5 separate regions of the Homo sapiens genome follow, and all the other regions are linked to region 2. The links are contacts of gene promoters, found by promoter capture Hi-C in blood cells and fetal thymus (Javierre and others, 2016). All regions are on one chromosome and are shown on one strand. The core of a region is centred on a gene start or on the middle of the fragment in contact, and the rest is flanking DNA. Distances in the headings are between cores, read along the strand shown.

Region 1 (2,700 bases), core at 134-2,633, 310 kb after region 2:
GTGGTTACTTGGAGGAAGGTAACGTGACAACCTATACAATATTAACTCATCCTAAATGTTGCTTAGTGAAAGAAATATAAATCTCTGAGATAGGTGACACGGGGATTTCATTTGGAACTGAAGCCCATAGTTATAAAAATTCAGTAAGGAGGAGAAAAAGAAAACAAAATAAAACTAGATTGAATCATTAATCAAAGACTGTGTGTATGGCTTAGGTTTATGTTTTTGAACCAACAGTAAATAGTAAGAAAGCATTTTCTTTTTTATGCATGTAACTAATATATTAATAGTAAAAGGACTGTTGGCTAAAGTTCAAAGTGAACGCTTTTCCTAAAACATAAAAAGCAAGTAAAATAAAACCCACAAAAACTACAGTAAACAAATGAATGCATTTTACAAAATAAAACATTTCCCTTGGAAAGTTGAGTGAAAACAAATATGTAAATAGCTTCTGTTTTTATAGTTAAAGCTTTTTAATCTCTGGTGCATAACAATTGAAAGAATGAGAACTTAGACAAAAGTATTTGGTGGATTTGAGTTAATGGGCCAAGCAAGCTTTTTTTCCTTGGCTTCTCTGTCAAATGAGTCATAGATCGAGTCTTTGGTAATAGTTTTGGCCATGGAAGGGATTTCTGAAATGCCAACGTAGTTTTTTTTGGCCATCCTTGAACTTGTTGTGATAGTATAGGCATTGCTTCGGTAACATTTCATAGAGGACATGCAAAAAGTCTCTTTCATCCCTCTCCGAAAATTGGCATTATAAATTGAATACAGAGTAGGTTTAGAGGCTGAAGAACTAAAGGATATCCATGTGATAGCTGTGAAAACAAGGGAACTTTTCTTATAGTCTTGTTCATGGGGGTGCCATAGCTGAGCTACATGAAAAGGCAGCCAGGAGAGCAAAAACAACAGATTTAAAATGAGGAACATCTTGATAGTTTTCACTTTTGTCCGAGGGACAATGTTCATTGTCCTCCTCACCGTTCGGCCATCTGTGCCTATTCTCCAAATATATTTTATGACCTTTTGGTAAAATAAAATTATGAGGACAGATGGAATCACAAAGCCCACCAAGAAGTGGATGACAGTGTAGGCAGTGCCTTCCCAAGAGGAGGGGAGGAAATAGTTACAATGACTGTCCCAGTTGGAGCCATAGAAAAAGAGCACAGGGGTCACAAAGCCTGCATCAAAGACCCACGATGCCGCAATCATTTTCTTGGCTTTTTCTCTGGACACCTTGAAGCTCAGAGGATAGACGATGGTGTAGAACCGGTCTATGCAGATGGAGAGGAGAACGTAGATCTGGACACCTGGAGTGAGATATTGAAAATATCGCACAACCTTGCACGTTGCACTACCCAGCGTCCACCTTCCAGTGGTGAACTGGAGCAGGACGAAAGGCGTGCTGGCAACGCTGATGAGAAGGTCAGCACATGCCATGGAGACCACAAAGTAGTTGGTGGTAGACTGAGTCCTCCTACTCCTATGGATGACCAAACAAACCAGGGAATTGCCGAAGATAGAAAACAACCACAGAATCCCAAAGAAGATGCTGGCTGTGGCCACTTCCCCGGGTTTCAGCACATAGTGAAGGTCTGTTTGGTTGCTCATCCAACTGTGCTCCTCACTTAATTCCATCAGGTATTGGCTTGGCAGAGGTGTGGCTGTTTCAGTGCAGCTGCGGTTTTGGAGGGGCACCAGAAGTGTAGGAATAATCAAATGTGGCTTGCTGTTATCCATTCTGTGAGCAAAAACCATATTCACTTTTTTTCTCTTAATTCTGGTTGGGGAAAAGAAGAATGAGGCCTCCTGTTAAAAAGGTGTCATACAGATTGGTTATGATTACTCAGGCTAACGATCTTATTTGACATTTACATTGATTGTCATTTGTCTTTGTGTAGGACTTGAGCGTTGGCAGGAAAACATAACTACTATCCAGAAAAAATTCTGGCCCCAACTTTGTTTTCATTTTAGGAGCTGTTTCAGCAGATCTCAGCTCAGGCTCTCTCTGGCCTCACCTTCTCTTGACCCTTAGTCATACCGAGCTCCCCTCCTACACATATCCTTGTTCCCTTCACTCATCAGGGATCACAGAATATTAGGGATCTCAAATCTGGCTCATGGTAACGGTGTTACCACCAACTGAAGATCTGCTGGAATTCTGGGCAAGTATGTGAGAAGTTCCTAATTGTCCTAAGGTTGCAAAAGAGGAAAGCTTGGGCAGATGAAAACACACAGATTTTGACTATGGAAGTAGCTAACAGCAGTCTGTGAATGTAGACAGGCTAGCTACTGGGAAGGGTGCTGTCCTTACTTAGTGTAGATTTTCCATCACAGAAGGATTATGGTAACACATGGAGCAGTCAACACTGCTACATGAGCCAGAAATAGCTCCTAATTTAATGACATCTGAAAATAGCTTGCTTTTTCTAAAAGACGATACAGTTCATGCACTAATAGCTTGCCACCTACCAGTGACATATATTTTGATGCTATTCTGTTGTTATTGTTTCATAAAATACTGACTGAAGAACATACAAGATGTCCTCTAAGAAATGTAACCAGGTTACGGGAGACCTTATGGCAGTCAGGTGATTAAAAACAACAAAAAAATGTAACTGTTAGCTAAGCACAGTGGGGAACACCTATAGTCCCAGCTACTCAGAAGGCTGAAGCAGGAGGATCAGTTGGTCCAGAAGT
Region 2 (2,700 bases), core at 157-2,656:
AAAATGCCAGTTTCTATGCTAAGCACTTTATATATATCATGTCATTTAATCTTTACAGATCCCATTATTATCCTCATTTTAGTTAAAACTTACAAAAAGTTGTGGGACATAATATGTGCTTCTTTATTAACCTATTAAGTAACAAGTGGTCATCTAATAACTGCCATAATTTTGACGTGGTATTGAGTATAGATAATATTTTGAAACGTGCAACAAGTCATGTGATATAAAGATATCGGCAATATTTACAGGGGGCAAATCATAGCTACTGCTAATACTACTGTGGCTTTTGCCTACATTCCATTTCAGAAGTCGGTGAAATAATAATTTTTTCCACTCAAGTTCACAGACATCCTGAATTCTATCCATGGATACCTTATCGTGGACTCCCCAGGTTAATAATTCTGGCCAAGGTACTTAATACGCTGCCATATTTTGCAAGCCTCTAGGGAATCAAGAGAAAACCAGGCCAATACTTTATTTTGAATGGATTCTAATGTAGCCTCTTTTCAAGCTTTTGCAAAGAAACCTGAACTATGTAAGGAGATGGGGCAGGAGTTGTTTTCAGTATGCAGCATTGAGAGAAGTGTTTAAGAGTTTTATATCATTAAAGAGGCTCAGCAATATTAGGTTAGCGACGTTTTCTAATCCATTATTATTTAGGCTTTAAGGGCCTGAAGTCGAGTTGAATCTTGTTGAAAGACGGGGTAAAAGGATACAGGCGGGTGAGAGAGGATGCCCCTGAGTTTTAACGTCTGCATACAAGAGTCGCTAAAACTTACTCGCACGTAATTAGTTCAAATATTGGAAATCGTCTTACAGCACACTATAATTTACCAAGATGCTTATAACTGTATACACACACACACTCTACAGAGAATTAGACAATTAGCAGTTTCAATAATGAATACAGAGTCAACGACAAGAAAACAGGGAACATTTTCTCTTCCTTTGAGGAAATGCATGTTGCCTACTGAGCTATTCTTCTGCCTCTCCTTCTGATGTCAACGCAGAGCCAGAGCCATTTATGGCAGGTGCCTTGAGCCCGCCTAGAGGTCCCCTTTGGAATACTGCAGCGACTCAAGGATCCTGGTCAGCCCTTATTGGCCCCAGCTGGTCCTTTGGATGCTCGGGTGTGGGTGAAGGAGCCTCGGCCCCTGGAAAGGAGGGGACCGACTCTCTCCGCAGGTAGCGACGTCGCCTGCGGCCGGTCGGGGGTGGGTATTGGGGAGACCCCTTTACCTGGCGTCGAGAGGACCCCGGCGCCCCTGCTGCCATCCAGGTGCGAGGACAGCTCTGTCGCGCCCGCGGGAAGGACCGGCGAATCCGCGCGGGGGTCTCGGCGAGGACCGCAGCGGATGCTCCGCAGCTCCCGCACCGGCCTGGCGGGTTTTGTGGTTAGCAAGTTCCTGCTTCCGTCGCAGCGACGGCAAGTTTGCCGCGGGGGAAGGGCACGTTCCTGCCCTGCAACCCGGAGCTGCTTCCCGGCAACATTAGCGCGTCCCTCCCCGCGGAGGCTCCGGGCTCCCGGCCCCAGCGCTGAGCCCCGCAGGGAGGTGGCTCCCCCCACCGCCCCGCGCTCCCCCCCAGCTCAGCCACACCGCTGACCCCGGGCTGGGCGCGCTGCGAGGGGGAGTGCGTGCCTCCCTGCTGGTGGCCCGAGGGTCTGCAGGTGAGCCTTGCCTCGCGGCCCGCGCAAGTTAAAATAAATGCACATGGGGAAAATGTCAAACAGTACAAAAATAGACACAGAGACAAGTCTACCCCTCACCCCCGTGCCCCAGTCTCCTAGTCTCCCTCCTCAGAGGCAACCACTGAGAGCAGTTTTTTGATGTTCAAGGGCTTATAGTGCATCCTATTGGGGGCATAGTTCTGAGAATCCTCTTTCCATAATTGGAGGATGGAGTCCTCAATTAAAGATGGCAATTCTTGAGTTAAATATTATCTGCAAGACAAACTTCAGGGAAGGTATTTGGCTTTCTGCGGGATTTATTGTTTGTAGATAGGATAATAATGGTGAAAATGCTGGTGTCTGTAACATATATTAAAACTGTATCCCTAACACTTAGCATAGTGCCTGGTACACAATAGGTGCTCAGTAAATATTTAACTAAAATATTTTTGTTGACTGAATGAATGGAAAAGAACTGCATAGGGCATAGGTTGTGGAAGTTTCTAAATTACTGCTGGCCCCATCCCCACCTCCATAAACACACACACAAATGCAACGTTACTAAACCATTGACACTTAGTTTGCCATATGGTCTAACCTTTGACAGTATCTTCACCTCTGTTTTGAAAGAGCTTGCAGACCTGAAGCGCTATGCAATTGCAAGTTAAGTCTAGGCCTGTACGGCCAACAGCTACACACCCTAGTCTTAACCAATAACTACAGGAGGATTAGGTTGACTGAGAATGCTTGTGAACAAAGGTCCATTGTGTGAAACTAACTCTACTTGTAACCAAAGGATGACTCTTGAATTACAATGTTGCTAAAGCTAGGTTTGAAAGAGTTACCAAAGAAAAGTAAACACCAGAGTAATTTCCCATTGCAGTGATTTTCCTGATGCAACAAGGGACTGATCTGCAAGTGTGTTTTATCTTTTATCATCTGATACACTTCAGGGTTCAGGGTGTAGAGCTATCACAGTTTTTGAATCTCTCTACATGGGGTAATCCATGCTAGTTACAAAGTAGACC
Region 3 (2,700 bases), core at 131-2,630, 280 kb after region 2:
GCTATCAAGCCACGAAAAGTCATGGAGGAGCCTTAAATGCATATTGCTAAGTGAAAGGAGCCATTTTGGAGAAGGCAAAACTGTAGAGATAGTAAAAAGTTCAGTGATTGTCAGGGTTTCAGGAGAGGGAGGAAGAGAGGGAGGAATAGATGGAGCACAGGGGGTTTTTAGGGCAGTGAGACGATTCTGTATGATACTGCTTATCAAAATTCATAGAATATACCACACCAAGAGTGAACTCTAATGTAAACTGTGGACTTCAGTTACTAATAATAAATCAATGTTAGTTCATCAATTATAATAAATGTACCACACTAATGAAAGATGTTAATAATAAGGGAAACTGTGAGAGTGGAGAGGGGATAGTATAGGAACTCCCTGTACTTTCTTCTTAATTTTCCCGTAAACCTAAACAGCTGTAAAAAAATAAAGTCTATTGATTTAAAAAAGAAAAAAAGAAACTCTGAGGCCATTAACAGGCACTCCCCATTTTTTCTTCCCTTCTCAGCCCTAAGCAACCATTAATCTACTTTAAGTCTCTATAGATTTGGAATAATACAATATGTGGCCTTTTGTATTTGTCTTTCACTTAGCATAATGCTTTCAAGGCTATCAGTGTTGTACCGTGTGTCAGCACTTCATTCCATTTTATAGCTGAATAATGTTCCATTGTATGGATATACTACTTTTTGTTATCTATTCATCAGTTGATGGACATTTGGGTTGTTTCTGCTTTTTAGGTATCATGAGTAATGGTGCTGTGAACATTGATATACAAGTTCTAATGTGGACCTATGTTTTCCTTTCTTTTTGGAATATACCTAGGGCTGGAATTGCTAGGTTATAAACTTTATGTTTAACTTTTTGAGGAACTGCCAAAATGTTTTCCAAAGTGGCTGCACCATTTTACATTCCCACAGCAATGTATGAGGATTTCACTTTCTCCACATCTGCACCAGTACTTGTTACTGGTTGTCTTTTTTTTTGAGACGGAGTCTCACTTTGTTGCCAGGATGGAGTGGTGCAATCTCGGCTCACTGCAACCTCCAACTCCCGGGTTCAAGCGATTCTCCTGCCTCAGCCTCCCGAGTAGCTGGGCCTACAGGCGCGCGCCACCATGCCCAGCTAATTGTTTTTTATTTTTAGTAGAGATGGGGTTTCACTATGTTGGCCAGGATGGTCTTGATCTCTTGACATTATGATCCGCCCACCTCAGCCTCCCAAAGTGCTGGGATTACAGGCTAAGCCACCATGCCTGGCATTGGCTATCTTTTTGATTATGTAAACATCCTAGTGGGTGTAAAGTGATATATTTTGTGGTTTTCATTCACATTTCCCTGATGACTAATGATGTTGAGTATTTTTTCATTTGCTTATTGGCATTTGTATATCTTCTTTGGAGGAATGTCTATCCAAATCCTTGCCCCTTTTTAAAATTGGGTTGTCTTTTTATTATTGAGTTGTAAGAGTTCTTTATGTATTCTAGATACAAGTCCCTTATCATATTTGTGATTTACAAATATTTTCTCCCATTCTGTGGGTTGTCTTTTTACCTTGATTATCCTTGAAATACAGTTTGGTAGCTTGTGCTTATCATATCTAAGAAACCATTGCCTAATCCAAGGTCATAAGGAGTAAATCCTCTGTTTTCCTCTAAGTTTTATAGTTTTATCTCTGACATTTAGGCCTTTGTTCTATTTTTTTTAAATTTGAGACAGGGTCTCACTCTGTCATCTAGGCCGGACTGCAGTGGCACAAACCCAGCTTCACTGCAGTCTTGACCTCCTGGGCTCAAGAGATCCTCTCGCCCCAGCCTCCCAAAGTGCTGGGATTACAGTGTGAACCACTGCACCCGGCTTGTTCAATTTTTAATTTTTGTATATGGTACGAGGTAGTGATCCAACTTAATTATTTTGCAAGTGGCTATCCACCTGTCCCAGCACCCTTTATTGAAGAGACTATTCTTTCCCCATTTAATTGCTTTGGCACCTTGTCAAAAATCAATTGACCATAAACGTAAGGATTTATTTCTGGATTCTCTATGCTTTTCCATTGGTCTGTATGTCTGTCCTTGTGCCAGTATTACACTGTCTTGATTACTGTAGCTTTCTAATAAATTCTGAAATCAGAAAGTGTGAGCCCTCCAATTTGCGTCTTTTTCAAGATTGTTTTGGTTATTCTGGGTCCCTCGTATTTCCATGTGAACTTTAGGATTAGCCTGCCAATTTCAGCAAAAAGGTAGCTGAGATTTTGATAGGAATTTTGTTGAAACTGTAGATCAATTTGAGGAGTATTCCTTTCTTAATAATAATAAATCTTCCAGCCCACTAACATGGGCTGCCTTTCCATTTATCAGATCTTCTTTAATTTCTTTTAATGATATTTTGTGGTTTTTAGTGCACAGATTTGACACTCCTTATGCTAAATTTATTCCTGAGTATTGTATTCTTTTTTAGGCTACTGTAAGTGGAGTCATTTTCTTAATTTCATTTTCAGATTGTTCATTGATAGTGTGTAGAAACACAACTGATTTTTGTATATTGATCTTGTATCCTGGACCCTTGCTCTACTCATTTAGTAGCTCTAATAGGTTTTTTCAGGGGGGCAAGAATTCTTTTGGATTGGATTTTCTATATATAAAATCATGTCACCTTCAAGGAGATAGCTTTACTTTTTCCTTTCCTTTCCCTGAATGCTTCC
Region 4 (2,700 bases), core at 168-2,667, 260 kb before region 2:
TTGTTGAGCTGCTGAAATATTCAGGAGATCAGTTGGAAAGAAAGGTATGGAACACCTTGAACTGATGCGATTGATTTCTGTGCCCATGCACTAGTACACGAGAATGGAATTGTATTCCAGGTTGCAACCTTATTCCCTTTCTAAGTCCTGGTTTCTACTTAGTCCTAAATTTTATTTCCCTTGGAGTCAAAATTCTTCATGCTGGTAGAATCTCAAAAATGAGTCACTTTGGAAAACATAAGTAAACCTTCTGGAGCCTCCTTGGAATTTTTGGAAACTAAAAAAGAAACTTGTTATTGCAAGAAAAGACACCAGTAAATTAAAATTTGCTGGATGGAATTATTAATCTCATTCCCCATGTAACTGATCCTCATTGAAGTTTAGACTCGCATTTGCTTTGCAGCCTGGATATCTGTGTCCCACAGTTGCTCCAAAGCTGGAATACTTTCTGGAATCTTTTTCCCCTGTAGTTGCTGGACTGTTGCCTGTTTAAGGGCTCTCTTAGCAGTTCAGCCAGGGAGGTGCGCTAGTGTTACTGGGAGAATGTATGGATTTCCTGCCATTTGGAAGTTGAGACCCATCTTTCCAATCAGGAACGGGTGAGAGTTGCCTTCAGGTAAACAGTTGGTGAGCAAACCTTCAACAGAGTCAAAAGGGCTTCTCTATGCCTCCTGGGTCCATAACCCACAGACGACTGAGTAGTCTCTAGAATCTGTCAATCAGGGGCTGGCTTGCAGACATAGACCCTTGTTTTTCCAGAATCTGTGGGGAGGGAGTCAGACCCTGGGGGTGGGGATGGGAGGTTCTGCAGGAAGACAAACAGCTCCTGTCTATAGCTTTGTCAAAAGTGTGCCCAGAGGCTGGTGACCCAGAGGGCGAAGCACCTGGGAGATGGGACAGAATGAGAAACAGCGAGAAAACCAGGGATATTAGGTTAAAGAAAAGAGAACGGGGTGTGTGAGCTTTGGGACCACAAGTAGAGGGTGGAGAGGGGTGCAGAGGAAGCAAGAGATGGAACAGGATCATGATTTAAGGGCACCCCTGCATTTCTCCAGAGCTAGTGTCATGGATACACAAATTATGCCTAGTATGGGGTGATTGATTTCTCCTTATGGTAAGAATGAACCTCCATTCCTGGAGAATAGGCATTCCAGGCTGCCCATGAGAGTCAACGGGTGCCTTGTGAGAGAATGATCTTCCTGTCACGGGAAGAATTGCAAGTAGGTGCCAATACCAGTTAGCATTTCAGCACAGAACTCCGAGGGGTCCTTTAGACAACCTCAAGGGCTCTTTACAACTCAGAGTTTCTGTGGCTCTCACGGCAACCTCCTTCCCAGCTTCCCTAAGCAGGGACTTGTGGTCATTGGTCAGGGAGGTGGGAAAGGCGGAGTGGGGGTGCTGGAGGTGGGACGAAGGCCACCGATCTCAGGTTATGAAGAGCGATGGTTTCATTTTCACCCCCACAAATTACCACTTTCAAAAACCTCACTTTGCCTGGTGCTCTCTCTTAAGGAGTTTGGACATTTTACATTGCTTATGGCAAAGCCTTGGTTGTTATTTCCTTTACATGCTTCCCCAGTAGGGAGCTCTGCTAGAGACACATGGTAGGTGTGACCTTGTGCTGGGCGGGTGCCAAGCTCCCACTGCAGAGTGCCGTGTGTGTGGCTGCAGGGGATCTGCAGAGCCGCTGGTCCCAAGAGCACACACAGCCCGAAGGCCCATCCTACACCTCCAGGAGAGGCCAAAGAGCCAGGTGCACCCGAGAGGGACAGGCAGGGGAGGGGTGAGGAGGTGCCAGTGGAAGCCCTGTCTTTGTGGCGTTTGATTCTTTTACTGTTCTGGCACAGTCCCCACTTGGCTGCCTGCTAGGGTTTTGAGCCTGGCCTCCTCCATTGGGAAACTGATGAAGAGGAGTCTGTTCCCTGTTATGGAGGAGGCTGGCCATGCCTCCTGCAGAGTCACAACCCAGACGGGGCCTGGACGGTGGGGGTGGGCGTGGTTCAGGGAAAAGACAGGTCTGCCAAAATCTCCCAATCGCATCTGACTCATCCCCCAGATATCCCTTTTAGAAACAATATTTGTTGAAAACCCGCTTGGCTTATCATTCCTCTAGGACAGAACTAGAGGATTTTCAAATAAATATTTTGTCCCTGCTCACTCAGAAATTTCCGTTTTCACATGACAACCAGCATATTAACAGACATTGCAAGAATGCTTTAAATGAAGATGATATATAGCTTTTTGATATGAGCCCTGATTTTTCAAAAGCAGAAGAGGCAGCATTGATTTTGTTTTAAAGGCGTGGTAGTTCAAAGGAGGTAAAGCAGAGAGATACCAGGTTCAAGGGAAGGCCGGGAGGTAAAATCAATAGGGTAGAATAATGGGAAAGAAATCAATGAATTGGAGTTTTTTTAAGTGAACATTGCATGCAAGGGAGTCTTCCCTGACCTCCATGCTCCCGTAGCATCCTGAAAAATGACTCGCATTTCCAAAGCACCTCTTCTATGTCCAGCACTATAAAGTGTTCAACTACCCTATAGTATAGGGCCAAGCACAGTGGCTCACACTTGTAATCCCAGCTCCTGGGGAGGCCGAGGTGGGAGGATCGCTTGAGGCCAGGAGTTTGAGACCAGCCTGGGCAATATAGTAAGCCTTGTCCCTAAAAAACAATAATAATAAAAGTTTCTTAAGAAAATGAAG
Region 5 (2,700 bases), core at 170-2,669, 270 kb before region 2:
AGTAGCTAGGATTACAGGCATGTGCCACCATACCTGGCTAATTTTTGTATTTTTAGTAGAGACAAAGTTTCACCATGTTGGCCAGGCTTGTCTTGAACTCCTGACCTCAAGTGATCTGCCCACCTCGGCCTCCCAAAGTGCTAGGATTACAGGCGTGAGCCACCGCGCCCAGCCCAGATATGTACTTTTTAATGGCAATGTTACCACATTTAATGAGATTATCTTTTTAAAAAATGTTTTAATTTTTAAATTTTAAAAAATAGGGATGGGATCTTACTTTGTTGCCTAGACTGGTCTCCAAATCCAGGTCTCAAGTGATCCTCCCACCTTGGCCTCCTAAGGTGGTGGGATTACAGGTGTGAGCCACGGTGCCAGCCAAGATGATCAATACTTCCTTAATATCATCTAAAACATACACTGTACTGTGTTTAGTTCTCTATCATCTCAAAGATATCTACATCTTTATACAGTATGTTTGAATTACGATTTAATAAAGATCCACTCATGACATCTAATTGATGTCTCTTTTTTTTTAATATGTTTCTTTTTTTTCTTTTTATTTATTTATTTATTTTTGAGACAGAGTCTCCGTGTGTCACCCAGGCTGGAGTGCAATGGCGCGATCCCCGCTCACTGCAACCTTTGCCTCCCAGGTTCAAGTGATTCTCCTGTTGCAGTCTCCCAACTCACTGGAATTACAGGCACCTGCCATCATGCCCAGCTAATTTTTGTATTTTTTTTAGAGACAGGGTTTCACCACGTTGGCCAGGCTGCTCTTGAACTCCTGCCTCCCAAAGTGCTGGGATTACAGGCGTGAACGATTGTGCCCTGCCTGATATGTTTCTATTCTTTCTTTCTTTCTTTCTTTCTTTTTTTTTTGAGACGGAGTTTCGCTGTTGTTGCCCAGGCTGGATGCAATGGCGTGATCTCGGCTCACTGCAACCTCCGCCTCCTGGGTTCAAGTGATTCTCCTGCCTCAGCCTCCCGAGTAGCTGGGATTGCAGGCATGTGCCACCATGCCTGGCTAATTTTGTATTTTTAGTAGAGACGGGGTTTCTCCATGTTGGTCAGGCTGGTCTCAAACTCCCGACCTCTGGTGAACTACCCGCCTTGGCCTCCCAAAGTGCTAGGATTACAGGCGTGAGCCATCGTCCCCTGCCGGATATGTTTCTTATGTCTCTTTTAAGCTGTAGCAGTTCTCTGTCTTCACCTTTTTTTGGCGCCATTTATTTGTTGAAGAAACCGGCCATTTGTCTTGCAGAACTTACCAGATACTGAATTTGGATAGCTGCCTTCTTGTGGTCATTAGTTTATTTCTCTGTCCCCTGTATTTCCTGTAAACTGATCATTAGATCCAGAGGCTTGATCAGATTCGGATCCAATGTTTTTGGATCAGGAGACACATAATGGTTGTCTCACCTTTAGTGAGACCAAGATTGGTCATTGGGAACAGGGAAGTGGAGCTGGGGTGAGTATAGGGTCACCAGATGTCCAGTACAAGCAGAATGGACAGGGCTGTGCTGCAGGATGGATGAGGGGAGGGTGGGATGCCCGGAAAATGCATGGGGGAGGGTGGGATGCCCGGAAAATGCATGGGGGAGGGTGGGATGCCCGGAAAATGCATGGGGGAGGGTGGGATGCCCGGAAAATGCATGGGGGAGGGTGGGATTGGATGGAATTGGGGAGCGGGAAGGGGTAAGTGGAAAAGCAGTAAGGAACATGACCTTCGAGGAGACACTGACGTGACTCCTTACAGAGCAAACGATTTGCATGTAAGTGAAATGCATGTAAGTGAATGTGAAATTGGAGCAGTGGCGGGAAGAAAGATTGTCCAAGCCCTGGAATAAGACAGGAATGTGAAGAAACAGCAGAGGAGGAGGAAGGATTGCAGTCATGACCCCCACTTCATGCCATACTCCTCAAGCATTTGCTTACATCCAGTTATGTGAGGGAGGTTTGCGGGGCTTGGAAGTTGTATAATTGTATCTGTGTAGTTGGTCTGGTGGGTTTTGCAACTTGCCCTTTGCTGCACTGGGAGGGCCATTTTTGTCCCCTCCAGCATCACCTGATGTTGCAGCATAGCCCGCTGCATCCCTCCCAGGCTCACTTCCATCAGAACGCACCTAGCCAGGGACCCTTGCTTTCCTGGGGCCTGGCCAAGGAGCAGTTCCTCAGATCAACAGCTTCGCTATCAGCCAATGTGAGCCTCTTCTAAGTAAAGGAGAGGAGACAGTGATGGAAAAAGGCAGCATCCAGCAGGCCCTCAGGGGAGATATTTCAGCTCCTACACCTCCTTCCAATAGCAGAACCAGGGGGAAAAGTTAGAGAATATCCTTATTCTATCTAACAACTTGGACACCGAGGAACAAAAAGGTGGCGTGACTTGCCCAAGGATGTTGCAGGTTAGAAGCTGAGCCAGCCGTGGCTATCCATCCTTCAGACACCCAGGCCAACTTGTCTGTACCACCTCACATTGCCTCAAACCCTGTCTGCAGTTACTGTCCCATTTCTTTATCATTTGGTCCTGGTATGACAAGGTACAGTGGAAAGAAAAAGAGGAACATGCCAGCCAGTCCCCTTAATATTACTGCAGCTTCTTTATCATCACAGCAGCTTACATGCCGAAAGACCGTCTTAAATTAGGACCAGAAAGGGAAGGGAACATTATTAAGAGCCATATTAAGACAGAGCCTGAGGCCG

What was found. Contacts are between HindIII fragments. The CHiCAGO score rates a contact against its expected background, and 5 or more counts as called.
Region 1: a fragment that was not itself captured here is called in contact with the fragment with the promoter of MANSC1 in region 2 in 12 of 17 cell types (monocytes, endothelial precursors, M1 macrophages and 9 more); the score reaches 7.9 in monocytes.
Region 3: a contact is called between a fragment that was not itself captured here and the fragment with the promoter of MANSC1 in region 2, in 8 of 17 cell types (neutrophils, total CD4 T cells, total B cells and 5 more). The highest score is 6.8, in neutrophils.
Region 4: a fragment that was not itself captured here is called in contact with the fragment with the promoter of MANSC1 in region 2 in 1 of 17 cell types (endothelial precursors); the score reaches 5.7 in endothelial precursors.
Region 5: a fragment that was not itself captured here is called in contact with the fragment with the promoter of MANSC1 in region 2 in 3 of 17 cell types (endothelial precursors, M1 macrophages and megakaryocytes); the score reaches 8.7 in endothelial precursors.

What each region holds. Positions count from the first base shown.
Region 1 is chr12:12,660,691-12,663,390 of GRCh38, forward strand. It overlaps GPR19 (G protein-coupled receptor 19), which reads right to left. Exons shown (of 4, transcript NM_006143.3): 4 at 200-1,780. The coding sequence starts at 1,758. The coding sequence ends at 511. Among named protein-coding and RNA genes, the nearest start is that of GPR19, 34 kb to the right of the region's middle. The HindIII fragment of the contact is 1,660 bases long and covers 554-2,213 here.
Region 2 is chr12:12,348,836-12,351,535 of GRCh38, forward strand. MANSC1 (MANSC domain containing 1) reads right to left here and starts at 1,407. Exons shown (of 4, transcript NM_018050.4): 1 at 1,243-1,407. RefSeq lists a silencer at 1,408-1,717. The HindIII fragment of the contact is 5,175 bases long and covers 513-2,700 here.
Region 3 is chr12:12,626,918-12,629,617 of GRCh38, forward strand. The region is part of intron 1 of CREBL2 (cAMP responsive element binding protein like 2); the gene reads left to right. Among named protein-coding and RNA genes, the nearest start is that of CREBL2, 16 kb to the left of the region's middle. The HindIII fragment of the contact is 3,664 bases long and covers 1-2,700 here.
Region 4 is chr12:12,090,806-12,093,505 of GRCh38, forward strand. It overlaps BCL2L14 (BCL2 like 14), which reads left to right. Exons shown (of 6, transcript NM_138723.2): 4 at 1-44. Among named protein-coding and RNA genes, the nearest start is that of MIR1244-4, 20 kb to the right of the region's middle. The HindIII fragment of the contact is 4,089 bases long and covers 1-2,700 here.
Region 5 is chr12:12,074,565-12,077,264 of GRCh38, forward strand. The region is part of intron 1 of BCL2L14 (BCL2 like 14); the gene reads left to right. Among named protein-coding and RNA genes, the nearest start is that of BCL2L14, 5.0 kb to the left of the region's middle. The HindIII fragment of the contact is 4,952 bases long and covers 1-2,700 here.